Regions from separate parts of the Homo sapiens genome. Here regions 1, 2, 3, 4, 5 and 7 are each linked to region 6. Evidence: promoter capture Hi-C in 16 types of primary human blood cells and fetal thymus (Javierre and others, 2016). All regions are on one chromosome and are shown on one strand. Each heading gives the region's core, a stretch centred on a gene start or on the middle of the fragment in contact. The rest is flanking DNA. Distances are from core to core; before and after follow the strand shown. Region 1 has its middle 19 kb from the start of LINC00976. Region 2 has its middle 72 kb from the start of LINC00976. Region 3 has its middle 52 kb from the start of LINC00976. Region 4 has its middle 9.9 kb from the start of LINC00976. Region 5 overlaps CCDC26 (CCDC26 long non-coding RNA). Region 6 holds the start of CASC11 (cancer susceptibility 11). Region 7 has its middle 40 kb from the start of LINC00977.

Evidence for each region. Contacts are between HindIII fragments. The CHiCAGO score rates a contact against its expected background, and 5 or more counts as called.
Region 1: a contact is called between a fragment that was not itself captured here and the fragment with the promoter of CASC11 in region 6, in 1 of 17 cell types (monocytes). The highest score is 8.1, in monocytes.
Region 2: a contact is called between a fragment that was not itself captured here and the fragment with the promoter of CASC11 in region 6, in 1 of 17 cell types (M2 macrophages). The highest score is 6.9, in M2 macrophages.
Region 3: a contact is called between a fragment that was not itself captured here and the fragment with the promoter of CASC11 in region 6, in 1 of 17 cell types (monocytes). The highest score is 5.1, in monocytes.
Region 4: a fragment that was not itself captured here is called in contact with the fragment with the promoter of CASC11 in region 6 in 1 of 17 cell types (monocytes); the score reaches 5.3 in monocytes.
Region 5: a fragment that was not itself captured here is called in contact with the fragment with the promoter of CASC11 in region 6 in 1 of 17 cell types (fetal thymus); the score reaches 5.2 in fetal thymus.
Region 7: a contact is called between a fragment that was not itself captured here and the fragment with the promoter of CASC11 in region 6, in 1 of 17 cell types (megakaryocytes). The highest score is 5.4, in megakaryocytes.

The regions. Positions count from the first base shown.
Region 1 is chr8:128,944,967-128,948,919 of GRCh38, forward strand. No RefSeq gene overlaps it. Among named protein-coding and RNA genes, the nearest start is that of LINC00976, 19 kb to the right of the region's middle. The HindIII fragment of the contact is 1,446 bases long and covers 1,956-3,401 here.
Region 2 is chr8:129,035,786-129,039,761 of GRCh38, forward strand. No RefSeq gene overlaps it. Among named protein-coding and RNA genes, the nearest start is that of LINC00976, 72 kb to the left of the region's middle. The HindIII fragment of the contact is 7,682 bases long and covers 1-3,976 here.
Region 3 is chr8:129,016,631-129,020,218 of GRCh38, forward strand. No RefSeq gene overlaps it. Among named protein-coding and RNA genes, the nearest start is that of LINC00976, 52 kb to the left of the region's middle. The HindIII fragment of the contact is 564 bases long and covers 1,686-2,249 here.
Region 4 is chr8:128,974,104-128,977,711 of GRCh38, forward strand. No RefSeq gene overlaps it. Among named protein-coding and RNA genes, the nearest start is that of LINC00976, 9.9 kb to the left of the region's middle. RefSeq lists enhancers at 1,258-2,103, 1,456-2,232. The HindIII fragment of the contact is 1,301 bases long and covers 722-2,022 here.
Region 5 is chr8:129,367,474-129,371,482 of GRCh38, forward strand. CCDC26 (CCDC26 long non-coding RNA) reads right to left here. Exons shown (of 4, transcript NR_130917.1): 3 at 2,834-2,904. Among named protein-coding and RNA genes, the nearest start is that of MIR3686, 110 kb to the right of the region's middle. RefSeq lists an enhancer at 3,038-3,207. The HindIII fragment of the contact is 2,545 bases long and covers 60-2,604 here.
Region 6 is chr8:127,731,505-127,735,295 of GRCh38, forward strand. It overlaps CASC11 (cancer susceptibility 11), which reads right to left and starts at 2,463. Exons shown (of 4, transcript NR_117102.1): 1 at 2,321-2,463. RefSeq lists an enhancer at 1,132-1,633, a cis regulatory region at 1,213-3,791 and a silencer at 2,538-2,657. The HindIII fragment of the contact is 10,989 bases long and covers 2,241-3,791 here.
Region 7 is chr8:129,279,836-129,283,468 of GRCh38, forward strand. No RefSeq gene overlaps it. Among named protein-coding and RNA genes, the nearest start is that of LINC00977, 40 kb to the left of the region's middle. The HindIII fragment of the contact is 1,993 bases long and covers 447-2,439 here.

The DNA of each region.
Region 1 (3,953 bases), core at 1,429-3,928, 1.2 Mb after region 6:
CCTGCCTCGGCCTCTGAATATAGTGTTTCTCATCTTGACACTCTCAGCTCTTTGCCTGGAACTTGTTTGTTGATTTCTGTGCCTTTCTGGCATTGTTGTGCTCCACTCACCCGCCAGATTTCTACTATGTTCATGATAAGTTACTCACTTCTCCTCTGATTATATCCTGTTCCTCCCTTCTGGGAATTTTGCTTACATAATGGTGTGGATTGAATTACGTTCCCCTCAAAATATGTTCAAATCCTAACTCCCAGTACCTGTGAATGTGACCTTACATAGGAATAGAGTCTTCGTAGATATAATCAAATTACAATGAGGTCAGGCTGGAATAGGGTGGGCCCCAATCCAGTGACTGATGTTTTTATAAGATGAGTGAAATTTGGACTCAGACACACAGGGGAATGCCATGTGACAGCAGAGGAAAAGATGAGGGTGATGCATCTGTAACTCAAGGATCACCCAGGATTGCCAGAAACCACCAGAAGCTAGGATATGTCTGCCTTAGATCCAGAGTGCACGGTTCTGCCAGTCCCTTGGTTTTAGATATCTAGCCTCCTCACTGTGAAAGAATAAGTTACTATTGTTTAAGCAACAGACCTATATTTTCCTAGTTGCTAAGTGGTCCTGAGACCTCATCCATATATAATGTTTCACTATCATGATTTTTCTGGAAACTATATATCTCCAACCTATTGTACCTTGGACACCTATTCCCAGAATTCCCACAGACACCTCAAACGAAATGCTTTCCTAAGCAAACTCACCATGTAAATAGTTTGAGGTACATCTCTTACACCAGCCTTAGGAAACTAAAGCAGATGATTGCTCTCATTTGAACTGCACTGATCTCTTATCTCTACCTGATGGAAGCCCACCTCTTCTTCAAAGCCCAGCTCAAATACCACCCCAGCAGCTCACTTCAGAGTTACCTACCCATTAGGTTTCCATGTATTTTTATATGTTTATGCCTAAAAATAATAGAAGAGAAACTAACATTTATGTACCACTTTCAAAATTATCTAATGTTGTCTTCCCAACCTGGAAATGCAGATATTATCCTCATTCTAAAAGTGAAGAAAGTGATGGTCAGAGGAGGTAGTAACTCACTTAAGGACCCACAGCCATTTTATGTCCACAGAGAAATCACAAACAGGAGGAGGGTACCTATGCTCTATGAATGCATGTTTGGTGTTCTTCTTACTATCTTTGTCGGTCTTTCTTATCAAGAAAACCTAAACTCCTGGAGATCCTTCTCAGCTGATGGTGGACTCAGGGTAAGCAGTCAAAATACTTTTTCACTATATGGATTTTAACTGGAAGAGAAAGATTTTCTTTTATGTCCCTACTTCATTTCAAGTCCAGAAAGCATCACCAGCATAGATTACAAAAGAGGATAGAGAATCTGTATCTGGGCGGTAATCTGCCTCCCCAGAAAGCCCCATCACCTCTTAAAGATCATGAGGTAAGTAATGAGGAAGGCTGGCTTCCACATTTCAGAGGGAAAAGGATCCCAGAGCTCTAGAATTATTCATAACCTCTCCTGTTTCCACTCCCTATTATAGAACAGATGGAAAAGGATTAGGGCCCACAACAACTTTGTTTGTTGGCATAAATCACCAAAGACACCTGCTATTAGCAATCTCATGGATGAATCAGTGCCTTTTGCCCAGTCAGAAGCATCGCAGATTGAAGTTAATCTCTCTCCCTTTTGCTCTCATTTTTTAAAGTGTCATAGCTTTATCCATAGAATTGCTGGGGTTTTAGCAAAATGTCCTCAGTTTGAGTCTGCTTTTTGAATCATCAGATGCTCTTAGCTCACCTATTTGTCTGAGGGGCCCCTAAACAAAATCAAATGGCAACACCCTGCAAGAACAATACATTTGTTTCCTCTTTCAGGCCAGTTCAATCTGTATCTTTTGCTTTGTGCCTCATACATATCTTTACAAACTGCTGAAAGCTTGGTTTGGAGCTGTTCCCAGCACATGCTGATATTAATCTATGCATTTGTGGTGTGCTCTTCTTGGGCCCTGCTGAAGGAGTATTAACATGAACAGTGTCTGGATGCCTGCCTGGGAAGAAATAAACTTCACTCAAGATCCACCACGTCAAACCTTGGTTTATCATGCTACACCTTAATAATGATGCTCAGAAGGCAAGTTCTTGCTTTCTCCTGATAGAAACCACCAACTGTCTCCCTGTCAGGTAGGACTATGAAACAGGCAGTCTATTTTGGATGATGGCCTTGGTCAGAGCCTTCCTGTCAAGGACCATGTTTGACATGTGATTTTGCTTTGCCACCTCCTACTTAACCTCCAAAGCTCTATTCACTTCCATCATCCTCCAGAAAGCCTCTCTTCACCCTTGGTTAGCACCCAGGGCTGTAAACACCCATGCTCATGCTTACCTCTGTCAATTCCACTGATCTGTAATTACCCATTGCCTTCTCTGTCTCCATTGTAAGATTATTATCACAAATGATATTGCTGGACTCTCAAGTCCCCTGGAATCCCTTTTACCTGAAGGATTGGTGTACCTATTCCTCAATTGCTTGGGGTGTTTCAGCTCAGAACTTTCACTTGCAACTTTCTCCAGAGGATTCCTCTTGATCTTTTGAAAATGCTTCTCCTTGGAGTTTCTGGGGTTGTAATACACCATGACTCCCTCCACTACCACTGACCTTGCCTCAAGTCAGGGCAGATTCTTTGGTGCATCTTATGTTCCAGAAAGCCCCAGAAAATCAGACTTATTTAGACCTTATCTGAGACTACATTCTTATATATCTCCTTCCTCTTTATTTTGTTTCCTCATTCGTTTACCAGCTTCTCCTGAGGGTACTCCTTCAGTTAGTTACATGTGCATGAATCCCCATATCAGGCTCTGCTTCAAGGAAACTAAACCTAAGATAACTTTATAATCTCATGTAATTTTTATAACCCAAGAGACAGGTATTATTATTCCAGCTAAATAAACTGAAGTTTAGGGAGAATAAATAACTGCACAAAGCTATGTAGCAAACACTTGCCTGCCACGCATCAGGTGTTCAGTAAATAGATGTTCAATGAAATAATAATCCCAAACTGCATTGAACATACCCAGTGATCTTGATTCCTGAGACTGGGTATTGGTTCATAATAGAATGAAACAATCTGAGGAAGGTCATGATTTGGAAGCTAGATGGGTCCCTAGGGATAAATGTAAAAAGAGGAAATCCAGATTGGTTTATAGAGAGAAACATCAATAAATGGGTGAAATGTAGTATCAGTGGGGTCAGGAACAGGAAATGAACTTAGAACTTTAGAAGAGGGTAATAGAAATATGACCATAAGATCCACAGTTCTAGAACGGCATTTGAAACCTCCTCATGGCCTCAGCAGGACCTGGAAATGTCCCAACGACAGAGAAGCTTCCTAAGAAACTAAGATAGGGTATTGGGCTCAGATGAATAAAGCAGATACTGTGCTTCTTTAAATGACAGGAACAAAACTTAGTTATCACTGTAGCAATAGTGCTTAGTAGAGCGCCTGACATAGTTGGTGACACTAAATATTTATGCAATAAGCAATTGAATTAATAAAAGTTACACTATAAGGCTGAAGTATATTTGGGGCTTAAGGTAAGAATCTAGTTATGAAAGCTCAGTGACTCTACTACCCAGGACCATCAGTCAAGTTGACTTATTTCAGAGCTTCCTGGTACCTGTGCTAAGTCCTAAAGTTATCCCTGCATAGGAAGTGAATCCAGATCATTTCACTTGTTTGATTCTGCTGAAGAAAGTAAAATAATTTGTGCTCAGGAGACTGGGCTTGGAAGCTAAGTGAGGCATTTCCATGGACAAATCAGTTTCCTTCTCCAGGACTTACCATGGTTCATCTGTTAAGCTAAGCACATGAACCAGATGAACTTTCATAAGATTGTTACTTCTCTATGATGGGTGATGAGTCACTTTTTCGTCC
Region 2 (3,976 bases), core at 1,178-3,677, 1.3 Mb after region 6:
AGCTTTTGCCAGTGTCTAGAATATATGAGGTCCTCATCAAGTGAACTGAATGAGGATTATAGGCTTTTAGGTATGGAAGGTGGCTTAGAAGCAGAATGTAATCCCTCTCATCACACAGATACAGAAATTGAGACCCGGGTAATTGACAGTCTTCACCATTTACATGGCATATATTGGTTTGGGAGAAATAGGAGGACTAATGGATAAAAAAATCCTTACTGCCCCATTTTCTGTACCATAGCTTTTATTGTAAGGCAAACAGAGAATGTGCAGGGCCATGTCACAGGCATATTATTATATGGACTTGCAGTCAGGGGGCACTTTTCTTCTGACCTCTGCCACTAAGTAGCTAGCTATTTGACTATGGGCAAAGCCCCTTATCTTCTCTGAGCATCTGACCTCCAATAAGTATTCCATTATATGTCTTAGCTGCTTCATAGCTTCTTGTGGAAATTCAGATTACAAAATCTAATTAGAAAATATTTGTAAAAAGTGTATGAATACATGAATATAGATGCAAAATGTCATTGACAAAATATTAGTAAATGGAATCTAACAATGCATTAAAAATTACACACTATGACCAAATAGGATCTATTCCAAGTATGCAAGTTAGTTCAACATTTGAAAATGAAATAGTGAAAATGATGGCATCAAGAGGCTGCAAAAAATTATATCCTCATAATAGATGGAGAAAAAAATTTATTCAATGACATTCAAACAGCCACTTAGGATAAAAACGCTCAGAAAACTAGAAATAAAGGAGGACTTCAACTTGACAAAGAACATCTACAAAAAAGCCTACAGCTAATATTGTATTTAATGGTCATAAACTAGAAACATTCCCTTAAAATCGAGAACAAGCCTAGGATGTCCCCTCTTAGCCCTCGCATTCAACAGTGTACGGCAAGTCCCAGCTAATGCAATAAGAAGAAAATAAACAATAAAAATAACAATAAATACAATATAACAATAACAATGTAATAATAACATAAAAATAATAAAAATAACTGATTGAGAAGGAAATAAAACTATCTTTATTTGCAGATGACGTAATTGTTTATGTAGAAAAATCCCAAGGAATCAACAAAACAACATAAAAAAGAAATTCTAGGAACTAGTAAGCAATTATAGCAAGATTATAGGAAACAGAGTTAATATGCAAAAGTCAATTGCTTTCCTATAAACCAACTAAGAAAAAAAGGAATTTAAAATAAAAAAAATGCATTACCATTTACATTAGCACCCAAGAAAATGAAATACGTAGGTATAAATTTAACAAAATATGTACAAGATCTATATGAGGAAAACTACAAAATTCTGATGAAAGATAACAAAGAACTAACTAAACAAAAAATTATATGTTTCTGGAAAGATTCAATGTTGTTAAGATGTCAGTTTTTCCCAAATTGATGTGTAGATTCAATGCAATCCCAAGCAAAATCCTAGCAAGTTATTTTGTGGAAATCAGTAAACTGATTGCAGAGTTTACATGGAGAGGTAAATGATCCAGAAGCCAACACAATGCTGAAGAAGAACAAGCCAGAGGACTGACACCACCTAACTTCAAGATTTCCTATAAAAATACAGTGATCAAGCCACTGTGGTATTGGTAAAATAATAGACAAATTGATCAATGGAACAGAATGGAAACCCTGAAATAGACCCACTTGGGTACAGTCAACTGATCTTTGACAAAAGAGGAAAGGCAATTCAATGGGGAAAGAATACCCTTTTCAACAGATGGTACTGAAACAACTGGGCATCCATATGCCAAAAAAATAAATTTAGACAGACATTTTATATTTCACAAAAATTAATTCAAATGGATCATAGATCTTTCTAAATGTAAAATATAAACATAAAATTTCTCAAAATAGTATAGAAATGAATTTAAGACAGTCTTGGGTTTGCTGATGGCTATTTAGATACAACACCCAAAATCATGACCCATAAACAAAAAATAATTATTAAGTTGGACTTCATTAAAATTAAAAGCATCTTCTCTGTGACATACACTTTTAAGAGAACAAAAAGCCACAGACTGAGATGAAATATTTGCAAATCACATATCTAATAAAGGACTTGTATCAGAAATATACAAAGAACTCCTAACATTCAACAATAGTGAAACAAACAACCCAGTTAAAAATTTGACAATAGACTTCAACAGATACCACACCAAAGATATACAGAAGGTGATTAAGCATATGTAAAAGATCTTCAATATAACATGTAATTAGAGAATTGCAAATTAAAACAGCAATGAGATGCCATTGCATCACTGTTAGAACAGCTAAAATCAAAGATATTGACAATACCAAATACCTCTGAGAATATGGAACAACAGGAACTCTCATTCATTGCTCGTGGGGAAACAAATTTTGGGAAACAGATTAGCTGTTTCTTACAAAGCTAAACATAAGCATATGCTGTCATTGCTTTTCTAGGTATTTACCTAAATGAATTAAAAATCTAGTGCACACAAAAACCCATACATGAATGCTTATAGCAGCTTTATTAATAGTTATCAAAAATTGAAAGCAACTAAGATGTCCTTCAAAAGGTGAGCAGGTAAACAAACTGTGGTACATCCACACAATGGAATACTATTCAGTGATTTAAAAGAAATGAAGTAACTCTTACACATATTGTGAAATCAAGGAAGTTAGTCTGGAAAACCTACGTACTATGTGATTTCGAGTGCATAACATTCTGAAAAAGAAAACAGGAATGTGATTTTTCCCTCACAGGCTGACATACTCGTGCTCATCCACTCTTAATATTTTGCTTACATAAGAAAAGCAATATCATGATTTGCTAATCATTCACCTAACCCTTAATGTTAATATTTGTTAAGTAGTTTTACATTCAAGAGCATGAGGGATATTTATGTATATATTTAAAATAATGCTTTTATTGGTTTTAGTAATGAGTTTATGCTGGTATCAGAAAACAAATGAGAAAGTATTCCTACCTGTTTTTTATTTTCTGAAAGAATTTGTGGAAGATTCATACTGCTTTTTCTAATGTATTATATCTAATGTACAATTGACCACTAAAACCATCTGAGCCCAGAGTTGTGTGTGTGAGTATGTATGTGTCCTTGTGTGTGTAATTCTTTAATGGACATAAGGTTACTCAGGTTTTCTGTTTCATTATTTGTCAGTTTTGATTAGTTATATTTGCCAAGGTATTAGTCCATTTCCTCTTGTCAAACTTATTGGTGCAGTTATTAAATAATAATCTTATTCTGTTAATATCCGGAGGATCTATAGTAATAACCCCTCTTTCATTCCAATATTTTTTATCTTTATCAGTTAGCTAACTTTTTATTATTTTTAGTGATTTCTTTAAAGAATCACATCTTATTTTTTCCTCTACTATTTTGGTTTTTATTTGATTGATTTATGCTCATATTTACTTATTTATTTTTACTTACTTGGAGTTTATTTTGCTTTTATTTTCCCCTAATTTCTATGGGTGGGACCTTAGCTCATGGTTTTATTTTTAAATTTTCTTTTGTCTTTTATTTTTATAGATGGGGCCTCACTGTGTTGCACAGGCTTGTCTTAAACTCCTGGGCTCAAGCAATCCTACCATCTAGGTCTCCCAAAGTGCTGGGGTTATAGGTGTGAGTCACCACACTTAGCATGAATATTTTAGACTTTACCCTTCTAATGTATGGACTTATATTTGTCAACTTCTTACTATTCTTTTCTTTATTGTCATCCTTCATTCTTTAGTATATTTTCTTTATAATTCTGTTCAAAGTATTATTTTCATTGTGCTTTGTTCTTTGACTGGTAGATTATTTAGAATTGTTTTGATTAATTTTCAGATATTTGGGGTTTTGTAAGTATCTTACTATTAGTGACTTCAAATTGCATTACATTGTACTCAAATAATACGATTGCATTTTTTTACATTTATTGAGACTTGTCTTGTGGTCAAGCATGTGTTCTTTCTTGATGAA
Region 3 (3,588 bases), core at 718-3,217, 1.3 Mb after region 6:
GGGCTAATACGAATATAATATATTCTTTTAAAAAATAACTGTTTCTAATTGAAGTATTTGTTTTCTATCTGAAAATAGAATTTAGATGATAACACTCTTCTCATGATGGTACAAATGACCAGTCGTGTGGACTTAGAACATTTTCTAAGCTTCTTCAACCCAACTATAAAGCAAGCTGTAGTTCATGTCACCTCATCATTCTTATAGCACCAGCAGTTCCTAAGGATGCTTGTTCCGTTATAAACGAATAAGTGCAAGAGGCTGAGTTTAGCCACAAAAATGCACTTAAAACATCTGACCATGCCACAACTGCTAACATCTCACTGGCCAAAGTAGCCTGTTGACCAAGTCCCGCATCAATGAAGTGGAGAATATATTCTACCAACTCTGGTAGAAAGTTCTAGAAAGTCACATAGCAGGAAACTTGGATGTACTGTTTTAGTATAAGTGTGGTGTAAAGAACTGGAAGCAATTCACCAATATAATAGAATCTACCGTGTGCCTATCACACTGAATGTAGAGTGCTTGGTAAATAATTGCTTCTCTTTTCTTCTTCTACATGTAGGATAATGTCCTCCTTTCTTCTAAGAAACATCAAAGGTTAAATATACTTTCCACATTAAGTTAGTGGCTAGCTGGGAGCTGACAATGTCAGAGATGATCCTGTGAAATTATAGAAAGGCATAGTGTGGGTCACCTTGTATGAAGTATGTCAGTTGTAAAGTGACAGCAGAAGCCAGGAATAATACTCAGAAGGGACGATTGAATTAAATGTTAAGTTAAGGAATCACGGTTCAACGGGGTATAGACAGGAAGCATTAATTAAGATGGAGAACCAAAATGTTCAGAAATAGGAGAGCTGGGAGTTAGATTGTGCCAATAAGAAGTAGTCAGGAACAAGTGTCCTGGGTACTTCAAATATCCAGAAGCCACTGAGCTGGAGAAAATCAAGCACATACATAAAAATAATAAGACTTTCTATTTACTGAACACCTACAATTTCACTGGCTCTGCACTAGGCAGTTTATATACACATATATTATCTTCTCCAATGAAATTTGACTTTTCTCTCAACCTCACTCAACCTTATAAAAGTGATACAAATTTAACTATTGATATTTTTCAATTTTCTGGGGGAAATTATTTGAAAATATAGTTCTGAATGATTAAACAGGATGTTTTTACATACACTTACTGCTTTGTCCTACCTACTTGATACTTCAGGCTGTTCACAATTAATCTATCATTATCTTTAGCAAATCTTGAGCACAAGTTCATCATGAAAAAGGAAAATAAAAACAACAGAACATTTACTGTGGTCATGCATCACTTCATTTAGTTATCCCCATATTTCAGCAACGTGGATGGCCTCTGCTCCCCATCCTTCCCTTTACTGTCAGGAAAGCTCAGGCTAAGAGAAATTAAGCATGTCTCAAAGGCTGGACTCTAAAGACTGTATAATTTTTATTACACCAACTCACCAACTTCTCTAATAATAAAATATTCTACCGGTTGAATTCATCAAGAGTTCTAGTTTGTATCGACTTGATTCTCATATATTAAGAGATGCCAAATGTCATTGAATAATCTAAGCATCCTCTCACCAGTTGATAACCAGAAATGCAGTGGTTCTACTTCTCAGCTGAAGTTCATAGAGAGGTAGAGGATACTGTGATGGAAAGCTAAGCTTCTTACACTGTTGCCCTTCAATGTCCATTCTTAGTCTTGTGTGCCATAGACCAATATTTGTTAATAGTTGGCATTTATATAATCTCACCTCTAACCTCAGGGTTTTCTTTAGCAGTAAAATTTTACAATTAAGAATCCACCACTCCCATCCATTCTTATTTCTGCTGCTTCCTGATCAGTTTAAAGGCTTTGCTGGAATTAAAGAAAAGTAGTGCTATTTTAAATTCCAATAATGAAGTTTTAGAATTATATTTCTATTTATTCTCTGTAGCTTGCCTGATGATTGAATTCATCTTTGGGCACATGGAGTGTTTTGATTATTTGTTGGAAAGCTACTAGTAGTTTAGTGAGGTAAGACACTTTTAGTGGATTATTTCTTCAGGCACTAAATAGCACCCTAGAGAACAAAAACAGCTTTAAAGTATCTCATTTCCAAGATGTTTAGATATTGAGGGAATTGGGCTTAGAATTAATTCTTTCCATCCCTGAGAGGTTTCTAGAAAATTCTCTTCCTCATTAGTGAATTAAGTTTTACCCCTTAGAGGTGCATTCTAATTCGAAGCTTCCAGAGATAGTTTATTTTAGGGTAAAGCTTTTGTATGGCTTGTTGGCAAGAAAGACCTGTGTGGAAGTTCCAGTTCTGTCACTTGGTACATTTGGATAACATACACTTAAACTATTTGAGCAGTAATTTTCTAATTTGTAAAATGAGAAGGAGAATACCAAACTCATAAAGCTGTTGAGAAGATTAAATTAGATAAGGTATATGGGATACTTTTCAATATAACTAGAAGAGAAATGTTCAAGGTCAGAGGATTGAGAGGGAATGGTGGTCAAGGGATATTGGAACTCAAGATCTCCTGATGTAATTTTGTATCTCCTACATTAATGGACCCCTTACATCAGGGGCTATTTTCACTGTAAAATGACGTGATCCACCAGTTTACATTTGGCTGATGTTCCTAGGTGTTGTAGGGGTGAAATAGTTCTCTTCTTCCTTCACTAGTCTCTGTCCTTAAGGGTGCGAAATATTACCCAATAGATACATAATATAATTTGTGGTCTCCCCATCACTTACCCTGGTGTTTTAGGAGATATCGTTGCTTCATTCCTAGAATAAATGTAATAATTAATTTCAGCAAGGGTTGAAATGCTATTAGGATTATACACTTGCATCTTTAAATGGTTCAATAGGGCTAAGGAATATGAGAGTTGTAGGAAGTCCCGTGTTGCACTGCCCAGATTCCCTTTCCAGACTGAGGTGCTTTTTCCTCCAAAGACCATGTGTGTTGACTGAGGAGGGCTCATAAATGAGTTCCTTTCTGGAAATTGCCCTCTACTGAAAAAAAAAGTTTTACCCAAAAAGTTAAGCCCACATGCAATAACTGCTTGACGGGTGGCTACAAGGCCTCACCCTATTTCTTCAACAGGGAAACATAATTGCATAAGGTGAATTCATTAACACTGGTATTTATGTCACTTTGTTTTGTTTACTTTCTTGGAATGACTCCCATGTGCTTTATGCTTAACAATACATTGGTGGCCCACAAAATCTTTGAAAAAATTGTCAATTGAGCACAGAAATAGTCTGAAGTTTCCGGGGACTGGACTAGAAGATACCAGGATTATGAGCTGCCCTAATAGGAGGACTGATGGCACCAGAGAAGGTACCCAGGTCACTATGGCAAGTACTTCATTTCAATTACTTAATTGAGGTACTTAAATTCTCCATGTCATGGAGAATTCCCTTGCATGCCATCTTTGAGGAGTGTCCTTTCAAACTCCTTTACCTGGATAACTCTTTGAATATTCTTATCATGAGTCAATGTTTCCAGGGAGTCTTCCATGACTCTCAAAAGCTATAATAATTTCTCCTCTTTTGTGGTATTTATAAGATAT
Region 4 (3,608 bases), core at 122-2,621, 1.2 Mb after region 6:
TGACGCTGCAAATTTCCATGCTTTTATGCTCTATGTTGTGCTTAAGAGGCCGGGAGCTCCATGCATGAAAAATGGCCCAGACTCAGTTTCCCTGTTCTGAAGTCTACCACCAACTAATTCAGGTAGGGGTCAAACTGACCTGGTTTGTACAAGACTGGCGAGTTTTCTGGAATGGGGGGCTTTCAGTGCTAAAACAAGGAAAGTCCAAGGCATACATGGATAAGCTGGTCACCCCAAATTTAGGGCTAATAAGATAGCACTAAAATGCTCAAGATAAAATTCATTTGATCACTTGCTTTATACCAAAGAAAGTGTAGTGTATAGTTTGTGTGTGTGTGTGTGTGTGTGTGTGTGTGTGTGTGTACAAGCACATTATCATATTGTTAGGCGGAAATGGGACATATTTTCGTGTGTCATTTATTTAAACTCCAAAAGAGCAGCTGGCCTAGACCAGAGCAGAAGCAGCTTCGTTTCTAAGCTGAAATTTAGGTATTCATCCTTGTGTGTTGTAGGATGGGAAAATCACAAGCAAAGATACAGGCATGTTCTTTAACTCACTGCACAGATACATCCAGAATCTCATGCTCCCCAAACTAGGCATGTCCTCCACAATCTACACCCCCAGTACAGGCCCTGCCAGAGGTATAAATATTCATGTAGTCACACATTCATGACTTATACATATTAAATCATTACACATAATCATAAATATGCATATCCAAGCTTTGTTGGATTCATACATTATTTGCACCCTTTCACAGTGGCACACAAAGACATCAAAAGGACCATACACACCCATGTATACACACTTTTAACAGATACTACGTGCATGATGTGATTTATCATTCATGGTCACACAAAACAACACATGCAAAGCAAAATATGTCACCACAGAGACATCCATTGATACATATGTGCATACACACTTTCAGAATACTCAACTGCACATGCTCATCTGCACGGAGCAGACCTTTCCCCACTGTGTTATCCTTACTTCCAGAAGCATTTATGTGAACACTAACATACCCTCCCAAATCCGTATATTTAGTCACACTCAGAGGTGTAAGATCTACACAGATTCAGATTCACACATTTACCTCTGTACATTTGTGTATTACCCCTTCTCTTTTTACTGACTTACATCTATACACACTTGTATCAATGTGCGCACGCACACATACACACACAAACACAAAGAATATACCCTAGGCAAGCTCTTGGATTATTGACAAGGCGGGGTATAAAGTAATAAATAAATAAATATAGCAGTAACAAATAAATAAATACATGCAGACACTGAGGTACACATGTATTTAAACTCTATCTTGGATATATCCATGTATATTGACATACATGCATTGTCTACTTAGGTTCTTTCAATTGGATATGTATTCACCAGATGCACAGACACAAAGAATTCTGGGTCAATCATTTGTTTATATTCCTCACACTGCCCCAAATACCAGAGAGAGCTGGTGGGCCTGTTGCTTTCTCTTTATGTCATCTTCAAGGAAAAGAGGATGTTTATGCCTAGACCACTTGCAAATGATGCTTTGTAAGGCACCACTGCCAGTGAGGTCCCCAGAATTAGCAAGGTTCAGGGGGAAACTGGCCAGGGAGGAATGTTTTTCTACTTAGCCAAAAAGATTCGGCTCCTTTGAACACAGACTTTCTGCTCAGATGTCCTAATGCATTCCACATTTGGCCATTAAATCCTAATTGGAGGCCTGCTGGGGAAGGATGGGAGCCCAGCCTGCCAGCATTTCCTGGGTCACATCCCTGCAAGACCCAGCCTGGCCCCCTGCCCTTGTATGACCTGCCCTTTTGAACTCTTAATCCTACCCCTGGTCACAAAGAATTAGGAGCTCAGTTTACTCCTGAAACCCCAGGAATGTCTCCTTTGGTCTTCCTCTTCTCATCTGTTACCTCTACTCCCCACCCACCTTTCACCCATCCGCACACACACGTACACACTTTGTTTTCCTTTCCTCCTCCTTGGTAAGAGGCAAGATGCTTTGTGGAAGCTTAATGGAAAAACTCCAAAAAACCCGAGCCTTTTATGATAAAACAATTGTCCTTGGTAAATGTCAGGCCTTGTATTTGATGATATTTATGACCTTTTTCTCTATTAGTCTGCCATTTTCCTGAGAAATCATGACCCTGGCTGTGTCAGCCTAGCCACACTAGTTTTATAAATAGTAAATGTATGTGCATGAGAAGGAACTCTCCCTCCACAGCCAAAATGACTATCACATCAGATTCAGAGTATATCCCACTAGGTATCAATGAGCAATTAGAGAGATGAGATGAAGATAAAATAACCTTGAAATGATCACTTTAGAAATCCTGGATGATTCTGGAATTAGAGCTAGTCTTAGCTCTGCCACTTGCTGGGTACGCTACTTTGTACAGGTTGTGGTGCATCTTGGATCTGCAGTATTTTTATCTAGAAAAGAAGAAGAATAATAATACCTTTCTTCTAGAAGTGTTGCTGTAAGAATCAAACAAATGAGCTCTGAAGAAAGTCTTTTGAACAATTGAAACATTAATCAAATATCACTAGATTTAAATGATAAAGGGACCCCCTCTTCATTGATAGGAACTTCAAAGTGAACTAAGACATGGGAATAATGATTGCCCTGAAATCTGCTAAAAACTATTTATCATGGCCAATGGCTACAAAATACAGTAAGATAAATTTGAGTTCTAGCTAATAAATAATTTCCTAAGGTTCAGAACTGTAAGAGGATGAAGAGGGGTTCCTTGGAGACAGTGCTTCCCCTATCCTTTGGGCAATTGCCTGCTGCCCTCTGAGAATATCAGTCTCTGGCTTCCTTCTGCTGCTGCAAGAAGTCAATCCTACTTTCTCACAGATGAACTCTGCTGTGGAAAAAAAGACTTCTTCAGTTACTGAGCCAACCCGGAGAAGTTCAGGACATAAGTCAGTAGCTACCAATGTCCCTGCCCAGGAGGGCTTTGAATTAAAGCACAAGGCTAGACCTGGATCCTGAAGCTGCCATCATCACTGCTGAGCATGACTTGTCTTAAAGAAAATAAAGATCCATGCACATGTATGTTTATTGCAGCACTGTTCACAATAGCAAAGACTTGGAACCAACTCAAATGCCCATCAATGATAGACTTGATAAAGAAAATGTGGCACATATACAGCACAGAATACTATGCAGCCATTAAAAAAGATGAGTTCATGTCCTTTGCAGGGACATGGATGAAGCTGGAAACCATCATTCTCAGCAAACTAACACAGGAACAGAAAACCAAACACTGCACGTTCTCACTCATAAGTGGGAGTTGAATAATGAGAATATGTGGACACAGGGATGGGAACATCATACACCAGGGCCTGTTGGGGGATGGAGGGTTATGGGAGGGATAGCATTAAGAGAAATACCTAATGTAGATGATGGGTTGATGGGTGTAGCAAACCACCATGTATACCTATGTAACAAACCTGCACATTCTGGACGCGTATCCCAGAACTTAAAGTATAATAATAATAATAACAAAGAAATACAGTAGTTAAGAACATGGGTGCTTGCATCAGTCATGATTTCCAATTCTTGTTGTATCTCTTACTAGTGTTATGG
Region 5 (4,009 bases), core at 82-2,581, 1.6 Mb after region 6:
AAGTTTATATTTAGAGGAAAAACTAGGAAACCTAGTTTTGGGCTTGGTTTTCAGCCACAAGCTTTATTGAAGACCCTTGAACATTCAGAGTGATGGTGTCATTTTCATCAAGTGGATTGTTTTATTCCCTTTTGGTTTCTTGGGACTATGCTCTATCATTGAGAAGCCAGAAATAGAGGCACAGGTAAGGGCAAAAAACAGTTTTGACCATCATTCTGTGATTTCACAACCAGTCAGTTTCGAAAATACCACAAGTACACTTTGTTCCCTAATCTTAGTGAATTAGAGAAAATAATAATACTTTGAGCCAATGTCTTCAGGGATTTTAAATATCCCGGAGGTATTTATACCAGTCCTTTAAAAAGCAGACACACTAAATATATCTTAAATCATATTGCTTTTCTTGATGTATCATTATTTAAGATAAGTTGATTTATCATTATTTAAGAAATGTTGATTAAGATAAATCAACAAAAGGTGGAAACTGAGTGGAACCTGACAGAGCATATAACACAATCTGCTTATGTTAGAGTTGAAGAAATGGACACTGTAAGTGAGGTGTGATGAAAAGTGTTCCCAGGGCTTTGACATTTCAGTTCTTGGGTCTCTTTGATTCCATCAGTGTAGTGTCTGGCTTTGCCGTAAACTAGCTTGCATATCTTTCAGTTCTTGCAAAGTCCCGATCTCACTTCACATAAATGGGATAGGTGGCTTGGTAAAGCTATATATGTGTGGGTGTGTGTGTGTGTGTGTGTGCGCGCGCGTGCGTGTATGTCTGTGTGTATGGCCCTGAAGGCCAAGAAGAATAGTAAAATGACCTAAATATATTCCTTAGAAAAAAATAATTAAGAAAATATTTCTAGACATATTTTTGCAGCCTTTGTTTGCTTTCAAGGGAGCCCCAGGCAAGAATAGAAATAGAGACAAAGGTGGCTGAAGCTAGGATGAAGGCAGAAAATGCTATTTGAATGAATAGGCCTGGATTCTACTTCAATCCCCACAAGAGGACTGAAGCCAAATTCTGCAAGAGTAAAATGTCTCCTTCTGTTTAGCTAGCTTCTCCAAGGAAGCCAGGGGTGTTACATACGGCCCTCCTATGCTCATAGTGCTGAGGAGCAGGAAAGAGGAAAGAGGAGAAAGGCAGCATGGGGGAGCATTAGTATCTCTCCTAGACATCTTGTAGCCCAAAGAACTGTGCTACTCTCCAGGAGAAAGGGAAATAGTTAGGAGACAACTCTCTAAAACATAATGGATCTGGAAAATCGACAATTCTGTTTTATAATGTCCTAAGTACTGCATTTTGCAACTAGATAGTACTTAAGATAAAACCCATGCACTGTTCTGTGAACTCTCTCAATATGGTGCCCAAGTGCCACGGACTGACTATATTGTCCCCTCAAAATTCATATGTTGAAGTCCCGACCCCCAATGTGACGGTATTAGGAGGTGAGACCTTTGGGATGTGATTAGGTCATGAGGGTAGAGCCCTCATGAATGGGATTAGTGCCCTTATAAAAGATACCCTGGAGAGCTCTGTTTCCCCTTCTGACTTGTGAGTATGCAGCAAAAAGACTGCCATTTAGGAACCAGAAAACACCAGACACCAAATCTGCTGGCACTTTGATCTTGGACTTCCCAGCCTCCACAACTTAAGAAATAAATTTCTGTTGATTATAAGCCACCCAGGGTATGTTACTTTTGCTATAGCAGCCCAGATGGACCAAAGAACCAAGTATCTGCTGCCTAACATTGTTTTTTCTAAGATTACTTTCAATAATCTACATAGAGATCTTCATGAGAACCTTTTTCTGAAACACCAGAAAGCCCTTTAAACTCTAGTCCAGCCTTCCTATTTTACTGAACAGCAAAATGAACCCCAGAAAAGGGATGTGACTGGGCACATCCAGGGACAGAGCTGGGTAGAGACAACAGAGTCTATTCTTTTTTTTTTTTTTTTTTTTTTTTTTTTTTTGAGATGGAGTCTCGCTCTCGCTCTGTTGCCCAGGCTGGAGTGCAGTGGTGCGAGCTCGGCTCACTGAAAGCTCCGCCTCCCGGCTTCAAGCCATTCTCCTGCCTCAGCCTCCCAAGTAGCTGGGATTGTTACAGGCGCCCGCCACCACGCCCGGCTAATTTTTTTGTATTTTTAGTAGAGGTGGGGTTTCACCCTGTTAGCCAGGATGGTCTCGATCTCCTGACTTCATAATTCGCCCGCCTTGGCCTCCCAAAGTGCTGGGATTACAGGCGTGAGCCACCGCACCCGGCCAACAGAGCCTATTCTGCTGTGGTCCCTGGAACTTGCTACACAGCTGCTTGGTCATACTCCATCTTCCTGACATGGAGTTAAGACTTTGTTCTAAGTTGTATTTTTTATTTCTAGTGATCCCTAGTGTTCTAATAGTCCAACACTCTGAAAAACAGGAAAACATTTTTCCTTGTGGTTGCCATGGTTTTTACAGTGGAATAAACAAATTCAGCAGAGAATGTTTAAACAGAGGAGGCCTCTGAATGATGGAAACAATTGGCCATCTATTAATATTTACATTAAGAAAAAGCATATATCAGGTGTGTACTTGATAGAGGGAAACCCGTTTTTGTTAGAACAAAAGCTTAAGTGATACTGATTGACTGGTCAGGAGGAGGAAAGTTTCCTTGACAACTGGCAATAATCACTGTGCCTTCAAATAAAAAACTAGTCTCTTTTCTTTCATCATCTCTTTCTACTTCTTTTTTTAAAGAAATTAATTTAAAGATGATTAGTCCTGACTCAAAAAGTTGGAGAAACCTTTGAAAAGTGAGTAAATATTATTACAAATTTGTGGGTGATTTTTCTTATCTTTCCATTTGGTAATTCTAGGTGATCTGGTTTAGTCAGCATGACTATGTGTCTTCTCTCCTCAGGCCTTCCTAAAGCCAAAGAAAACAAAAATGGCATTGAATGCTATGCTCCAGAATTAAGCAAATTCACTTTCTGCATCCACCCTTCAATAAAGGGCCCAAAACTACTCATGTATGCAATTGTAGCAGGTGTTTTTCAGGACAAAAATACCCTAATATTTCAAAAGTGTTCAAAAATGGGAACCAGTGCTAGGGCAAACTCCAGAGAGATCCCCAGTACTTTTCTGTGGCTGAAGAAGTCTGTTCACAGAAGGCTCCATCTGGCTGTGGTAGACAGGTGCAAGAAGACACACATGCATACACACACGAGCACGGCTTGCCTAAGTTCTGTATATCTCACCTGGCTTGGGTTCCTCTACCATTGTAATTTCCGTTAATGATCAGAGGCCCCCTTCAAATATACTCTGAGAATTCACATGAGGGAGGCCAACAAACCCATCAGGCTCAGCTCTTTAGTTTCAAGTGTTTTTTCCATTTCACACATGTTTGAGACTTCACTGAATTTGCCATCAAAGGACATTGGCAAGAAATTTGCTAAAAGAACCATCCTGTTACCATCGGAAGGTGCATTAAGACTTGGATTATTAAACTGGAAAACATCAAGTCAATTTCTTTGGTGTCTTTCTGCATTAGATATATTTCTTACTTAGTAGACTTAATTTTTCCAAAAGAATCATAAACTCTAGATGTAAGATGCGGGTTCTCACTAAAGAATTTCACAGAATAATTAGGAAAAGAATGAAATAGAAATTGGCGACAGGTTACAAATGAACACATTCAAAACCTTAAGCCACATAACAAAATGTGACTTTCAATGTGAAATAATAAGAGCATTTTACTTAAATGATAGAATGCATTGCACTTCAAACGGATAGTTATGTTGTTAAAGATGCTGTTTCCTTTCATTATTTTTAAACCTATGCTCCCAATTCCATCCTACCAAAAAAATTCTTACTATTATGACCCTTGGGAAAAATGAACCAATTCATACAGCCAAGTTTTACACTTCCTTTAAGAACTGTGACTTTCAGTTACAAACTGTCTTATCCTAAATAAACTTAAGTTAAAAAAAAAAAACCATACAATATGTTCCTTGTTGCTTCACATTAACCAC
Region 6 (3,791 bases), core at 1,213-3,712:
AGCTCCAAATAACAGGGGGAGCCAACAAAAAAGAGTGCTGCTAGAGCAACAAGCAAGGGGCAATTAGTCAGAAGGCAACTTCCATGGTCTTCCAAAAAAAATTGAGGTGAAAGACCAAAGATGTCCCTAAAATGTCTTCCTAAAAGATAAACTTCATCAACTACCTCTGACTGGTCAGTATTAAGAACCACTTTCAGGCCAGGTGTCATGGTTCACGCCTGTAACTCCATCTACTCCAGAGGCTGAGGCAGGACAATTGCTTCAGGCCGGAGGATTGCTTGAGGCCAGGAGCTGGAGACCAAGCCTGAGCAACACAGTGAGACCTCATCTCTACCAAAAATGTACCTCTATTAAAAAACAAAAAAGAAGAAGAAGAAGAAGAAGAAGGAGAGGAGGCTGGGTATGGTGGCTAATGCCTTTGTAATCCCAGAACTTTGGAAGGCTGAGGCAGGAGAATCACTTAGGCTGAGGCAGGAGAATCACCAGAGTCTAGGAGTTTGAGACCAGCCTGGGCAACATAGTGAGACCCCCATCTCTACAAAAAAAAAAATTCAAAAATTAGCCAAGCGTGGGGTTTGTGCCTGTAGACCCAACTACTCAGGAGGCTCAGGTAGGAGGATCACCTGAGTCCAGGGAGGTCGAGGCTGCAGTGAGTCATGATTATTCCACTGCCTTCCAGCCTAGACTACAGGGTGAGACCCTGTCTTAAAAAAAAAATTAAAGAAGAAAAAACTCTCTTTTCTTTTCTTTCTTTCTTCTTCTTCTTTTCTTTTTTTTTTTTTCTTTTTTTTTTTTTAGAGATGGCACGTCACCACATTGCCCAGGCTGTTGTCGAACTCCTGGCCTCAAACGATGCTCCCACTTGAGCCTCCCAAAGTGCTGGGACTACAAGCATAAGCCACCACACACGGCCTTTTCCTTTCTTTTTCTATTTCTCAATGGATTTTTCCAATGGACACGTATCACTTTGGTAGTTATACATGATACTAGTTGTAATCTCAGCCATTTTTCAACCCAGCAAATGTCTATTCTAGGTCAAATATGTCTCAAAAATTACTAAAAGAAAATCAGTTATGTCCTTTAACCTGGCTGAGGTCTGGCTTTGTTTTCTCTCATGTAAAAATGGAGATGGCACAAAACAACTCCAAGCTGTTACTTGAAAGTAACACCTCAGGTGATGTCACCAGCCTGAGGGAGAGTGAGGTTAAGTTCTGAACCCACAGGCATTATATCTGCCTGGGGTTCACATGCCCTACACTGGACTGGCATAATTTGAGAGTCAGATCCGAAGATGTGGTATATCCGCCATCTTTAGCAACTTTCAAAAACTACCCTATGAGGTCAAGCTGGACCTACTTTTGGTTTTGCCATTGTTGTTTGTTTGTTGTTGAGGGTTTTCTTTGAGGGGCGGGGAGTGCATGCCCCTGTGGAGAGCACTCATTTAGCTTCAATTAGAGTAATGCCAAAAGTGCCAGATTCCTGGGAAATCAGCCTACAAGGCTCCTGCGGGAAGGAACCTCCACTGCCAGAAGTCCTTAGGGCATCTAAGTGATCAGACACCGTCAGGGATTCTTTGCCCCGTAAAAACCTACTTGACCAGGGACACGTGCCAGGTAAATTTCCTTCACATTTACTTCAACCTTATTGCATACTCATTTTAGTATTAAAACCTTTAATAAAATGCTCCTATTCCTTCACACTTTTTTTCTATGAGATCTCAAATACCCCTTCTTGCTATTAAAAAAAATCACTTATTATTCACCAGCCCAATATTTTAAAAGTAAAAATAATAAGCCAAGGCCAGGAGCGATGACTCGCACTTGTATTCCCAGCAGTTTCAGAGGCAAAGGCCGAAGGATCGCTTTAACCGAGGAGTTTGAGACCAGCCTGGGCAACATGACCAGACTGCCTCTCTACAAAAAGTTTAAAAAATTAACCGGGTGTGGTGGTGCACTGCACTCCCAGCTACTGGGCTGGGGTATCAGGCTGAGGTAGGAGGTTTGCTTTGAGCCCGGGGGGATCGAGGCTGCAGTGAGCTTTGATTGTGCCACTGCACTCCAGCCTGGGTGACAGAAGGAGACCCTGTCTCAAAAATAATAAGAATAATAATTAATAATAATAGGCCAAACCAAATACCCATCACCTTCTGCTGTGCCTCCCCTTTCCCCAATAAATCCAGTGTCTTGCTTTCAAATTTTGTGGTTAAAAAAGATGATGAGTTTCTAAGACGTGGGGGCTAAAGCTTGTTTGGCCGTTTTAGGGTTTGTTGGAATTTTTTTTTCGTCTATGTACTTGTGAATTATTTCACGTTTGCCATTACCGGTTCTCCATAGGGTGATGTTCATTAGCAGTGGTGATAGGTTAATTTTCACCATCTCTTATGCGGTTGAATAGTCACCTCTGAACCACTTTTTCCTCCAGTAACTCCTCTTTCTTCGGACCTTCTGCAGCCAACCTGAAAGAATAACAAGGAGGTGGCTGGAAACTTGTTTTAAGGAACCGCCTGTCCTTCCCCCGCTGGAAACCTTGCACCTCGGACGCTCCTGCTCCTGCCCCCACCTGACCCCCGCCCTCGTTGACATCCAGGCGCGATGATCTCTGCTGCCAGTAGAGGGCACACTTACTTTACTTTCGCAAACCTGAACGCGGGTGCTGCCCAGAGAGGGGGCGGAGGGAAAGACGCTTTGCAGCAAAATCCAGCATAGCGATTGGTTGCTCCCCGCGTTTGCGGCAAAGGCCTGGAGGCAGGAGTAATTTGCAATCCTTAAAGCTGAATTGTGCAGTGCATCGGATTTGGAAGCTACTATATTCACTTAACACTTGAACGCTGAGCTGCAAACTCAACGGGTAATAACCCATCTTGAACAGCGTACATGCTATACACGCACCCCTTTCCCCCGAATTGTTTTCTCTTTTGGAGGTGGTGGAGGGAGAGAAAAGTTTACTTAAAATGCCTTTGGGTGAGGGACCAAGGATGAGAAGAATGTTTTTTGTTTTTCATGCCGTGGAATAACACAAAATAAAAAATCCCGAGGGAATATACATTATATATTAAATATAGATCATTTCAGGGAGCAAACAAATCATGTGTGGGGCTGGGCAACTAGCTAAGTCGAAGCGTAAATAAAATGTGAATACACGTTTGCGGGTTACATACAGTGCACTTTCACTAGTATTCAGAAAAAATTGTGAGTCAGTGAACTAGGAAATTAATGCCTGGAAGGCAGCCAAATTTTAATTAGCTCAAGACTCCCCCCCCCCCAAAAAAAGGCACGGAAGTAATACTCCTCTCCTCTTCTTTGATCAGAATCGATGCATTTTTTGTGCATGACCGCATTTCCAATAATAAAAGGGGAAAGAGGACCTGGAAAGGAATTAAACGTCCGGTTTGTCCGGGGAGGAAAGAGTTAACGGTTTTTTTCACAAGGGTCTCTGCTGACTCCCCCGGCTCGGTCCACAAGCTCTCCACTTGCCCCTTTTAGGAAGTCCGGTCCCGCGGTTCGGGTACCCCCTGCCCCTCCCATATTCTCCCGTCTAGCACCTTTGATTTCTCCCAAACCCGGCAGCCCGAGACTGTTGCAAACCGGCGCCACAGGGCGCAAAGGGGATTTGTCTCTTCTGAAACCTGGCTGAGAAATTGGGAACTCCGTGTGGGAGGCGTGGGGGTGGGACGGTGGGGTACAGACTGGCAGAGAGCAGGCAACCTCCCTCTCGCCCTAGCCCAGCTCTGGAACAGGCAGACACATCTCAGGGCTAAACAGACGCCTCCCGCACGGGGCCCCACGGAAGCC
Region 7 (3,633 bases), core at 193-2,692, 1.5 Mb after region 6:
ACTGGTGGCGATCTCAGCTCACTGCAACCTCCGCCTCCCAGGTTCAAGCAGTTCTCATGCCTCAGCCACCTGAGTAGCCAGGATTACAGGTGCGTGCCACCATGCCTGGCTAATATTTTGTGTTTTTAGTAGAGACGGGGTTTTGGCACGTTGGCCAAGCTAGTCTCGAACTTCTGACTTAAAGTGATCCATCCGCCTTGGTCTCCCAAAGTGCTGAGATTACAGGCATGAGCCATGGCACCCGGCATGCCTGGCTTTTTTATTGTTTAATTGCAACTCCACATTCTCAAACATAATATGGAGATGAAAAGTCTGTGTTTTCTCCATTATTAGATCTCTTTCCTGGCAGTAGCCCAATCTGAATCTAGTTAACTTAAAAAAAAAAAAAGGAATTTATTGGAGTGCTGACAAAGATCTCACAAAATAAATTGATAGGCTAGTATCCAAGCTTAGAAACAAAGCAAAAATCAGAGTCAAAAATCAAAATAGGATCCAGGCAACAAGAGCCAGTCTATCGTCTCATTAGAGTGCCATACCTAAAATGAAGGTCTCCATTTTTCTCTGCTGTGAGTCACTTGATTCCACACACAAAGTTCTGGGAGAAAGAGTGTGATTGACTCAGCATAGATCAAAACCCCCTGGGCTTCTTTGAAGCAGTGAGAGAAAGAGTCTGGAGGGAGGAGAGTGTACTAGCCTTCAGGGACCTCTAGTTCTCTATTAGAAGGGCAGTGGACATTGATTTATAGTCCCACCGAGAATGTACAAAACAGGGGCTAGTTAGGTCCCTCAAATTAATGGATGCTAGATGGTCATAAATTAACAAATATCCACTCTTTCTACTTCACAAGGCTGTTGAGAATGGAGTAAATTAGACAAAAAACTCTGAAAACTGAAACCCACTATGCAAATATTCATTGCTGTCATTATTACTATTCTTGTTATTAATATCAGAATTTATGAAAAATAAAATATTTTTTAAATTATGGTCATTTTACATTTTGAGGAATCCCCCCCTTTATTAAAGAAATCATTTTATTAAGTATTAAGCACTAAAGTAGTGGCCTGTCTCTCAAATTAATAGTAGACAATGGGTATAAATAATGTTGACAACCAGTAAGTAAAAAACAATTCTCATTTTTACACCAGTTTGGAAGGTCATATTTCATATTATGTGGGCTTTAAAGAGGATCATAGAGAATTAGCCAGTGTAAATTTCTAGACAGAAATCATCACTTAGAAAGGAATTCTTAGCAGAGAGCTTTGAGTGAATGAATAGCTTCAGAGAGAATTACAAAATCCTGAAATTTCACATAACTATTTGGTTTGCTGCATCTAAGAGTATATATATATATTCTCACACACACACACACACACACACACACACACACACACACACACACAGTCAATACCTTTATCAGTTTCAGTTGTTGAAAGATGCATGACCCTAAAAACACCAAGAATCATTAATTTTTAATGCAAAGGGAATTCCTGCAATATCAAATCAAAAATATTTGGATTCAAATTCTGGATATCCACCATAAGTTCAAAACTGTGCTAATCAATGTAAACCATTCTACACCAATGTAAACTCATAAACCATTCTTTATTCTTCAGGAGCTTAGACTCTCACATGAAAGATAAGAATAGGTATGTCAATTAAAATACCTTGGGTTACAAATAGCCCAAATATCCAAACTGAAGTTAGCTTAAACAATATGGAAATGGTTTGTGAAGTTCCTGGGAATAGACATTGAGAGGTGAGGTGGATTTCAGAGTTGGCTGAATGCAATGGCCCTCCTTGAATTACTCTGTGGTGCTCTTGGCTCGGCCTTCCTCTCTGTTTTGGCTTCTTCTTTAGGCTAACATCTCTTGTGGTTACAAAATGGCTACAGATGTCCCAAATTGAGTGGACAAAAATAATATCCATACAACTGCATATCATTCATTGTTCAGCTTTTCCCCACTCAGAGAACCCTGTACAATTAAGTAATCAATACATATCTCTTAATAAAGAAGTGGTTGGATAAATGTATGAAGAGTTAAATAATCATCCATGGCAGGTGTGAGGAAATGAGCATTTTAGAAAAAATACGTAATAGATCAAAGAAAGAAATTATAAGTTGAGGGGACACAGAAAACTTCTAAAGAATCACATGCTTTGAATAGATAAAGGGTAGCAGACATAGCATTCCAGGCATATACAGTTGGCAGCTGGTTTAAAGTAAATAAATTCATAAATGAAAAAAAGAAGATATGCAATTTCAGGGAAACTTTCCATCCATTCCAAGTGGTTTCATATTTTGAGTTGCAACATTAAGAAGTTACTAGGACATTGGAAGTTTCCATGGAAACTTGTATCCTGCAGAATCTCAAATTACCTCATGCAATAATGATCATGACCAACTAGGGTAGTAAGATTAATACATATGATGAAATTGAAGCTTAAAATTTTTCACACAATGAAACCTCATTATATTTTTTATTCTCCACTATTTTTATAGTTCTTTTAAATATTCTTTGAGTGCTTTCCATATGTTGAGCTCTGAGTTAGGTACTTTCAAGTGATTTTTTTTTTTAAACTCACAATAAGGTTATTATCATTATTTTTTACTTTTTACAATTTAACTAACAAATAACCAACTAATAAGTATCAGAGCTGGAATTATACGAATGAATATATATGAGTTAATTTTAACTATTTATATTCTATGTAAAAGACTAAACTACTTTTAACTACACTAAAAGTAACACTTTAAACAGGAGCAAATGTTATAATGATTAAAAATAACTTTAGGCTAGTTACGCGGGAAAATCTACTAGCTATTCCCAGTACCCTTCCTCTAGGCAATTTTTGGATAACAGAAAAACACTTAAAGAATATATGGGCATACCTTGTTTTATTGTGCTTCGCTTTATTGTGCTTCACAGATGTCACGTTTTACAAATTGAAAGACTGTGGCAACCCTGTGCCAAGCAAGTCTATGGGCACCATTTTCCAACAGCATGTGTTTGCATTGTGTCTCTGTGTCACATTGTGGTAATTCTCACAATATTTCAAACTTGTATTATTATTATATCTGTTATGGTGTATTAGTTTATTATCCATTGCTATGAAGAAATACCTAAGACTGAGTAATTTATAAAGAAAAGGGGTTTAATTGGCTCACAATTTTGCAGGCTTTACAGAAAGTACGATGCTGGCATCTGCTGGGCTTCTGGGGAAAGCTCAGGAAACTTACAATCATGGCAGAGGTGAAGGAAGCATGTCTTACATGGCCAGAGCGGGGGAAGGGGGTGGTACCACACACTTTTAAACAATCAGATCTCTCAGTAACTCCCTCACTCAGTATTGCCATGACAACACCAAAGGGAATGGTGTTAAACCATGAGAAACTGCCCCACAATTGAATCACTTCCCAAAAGGCCCCACCTCCAACACTGGGGATTACAATTCGATGTGAGATTTAGGAGGGACACAGATCCAAACCATATCATATGGTGATCTATGATCAGTTATCTTTGATATTACCCTTAGAATTGTTTGGAGCACCACAAATCACTTCCATATAAGACAGTGAACTTATTGATAAGTGCTGTTTGTGTTCTGACTGCTCCACCATCTCTCTCCCTCTC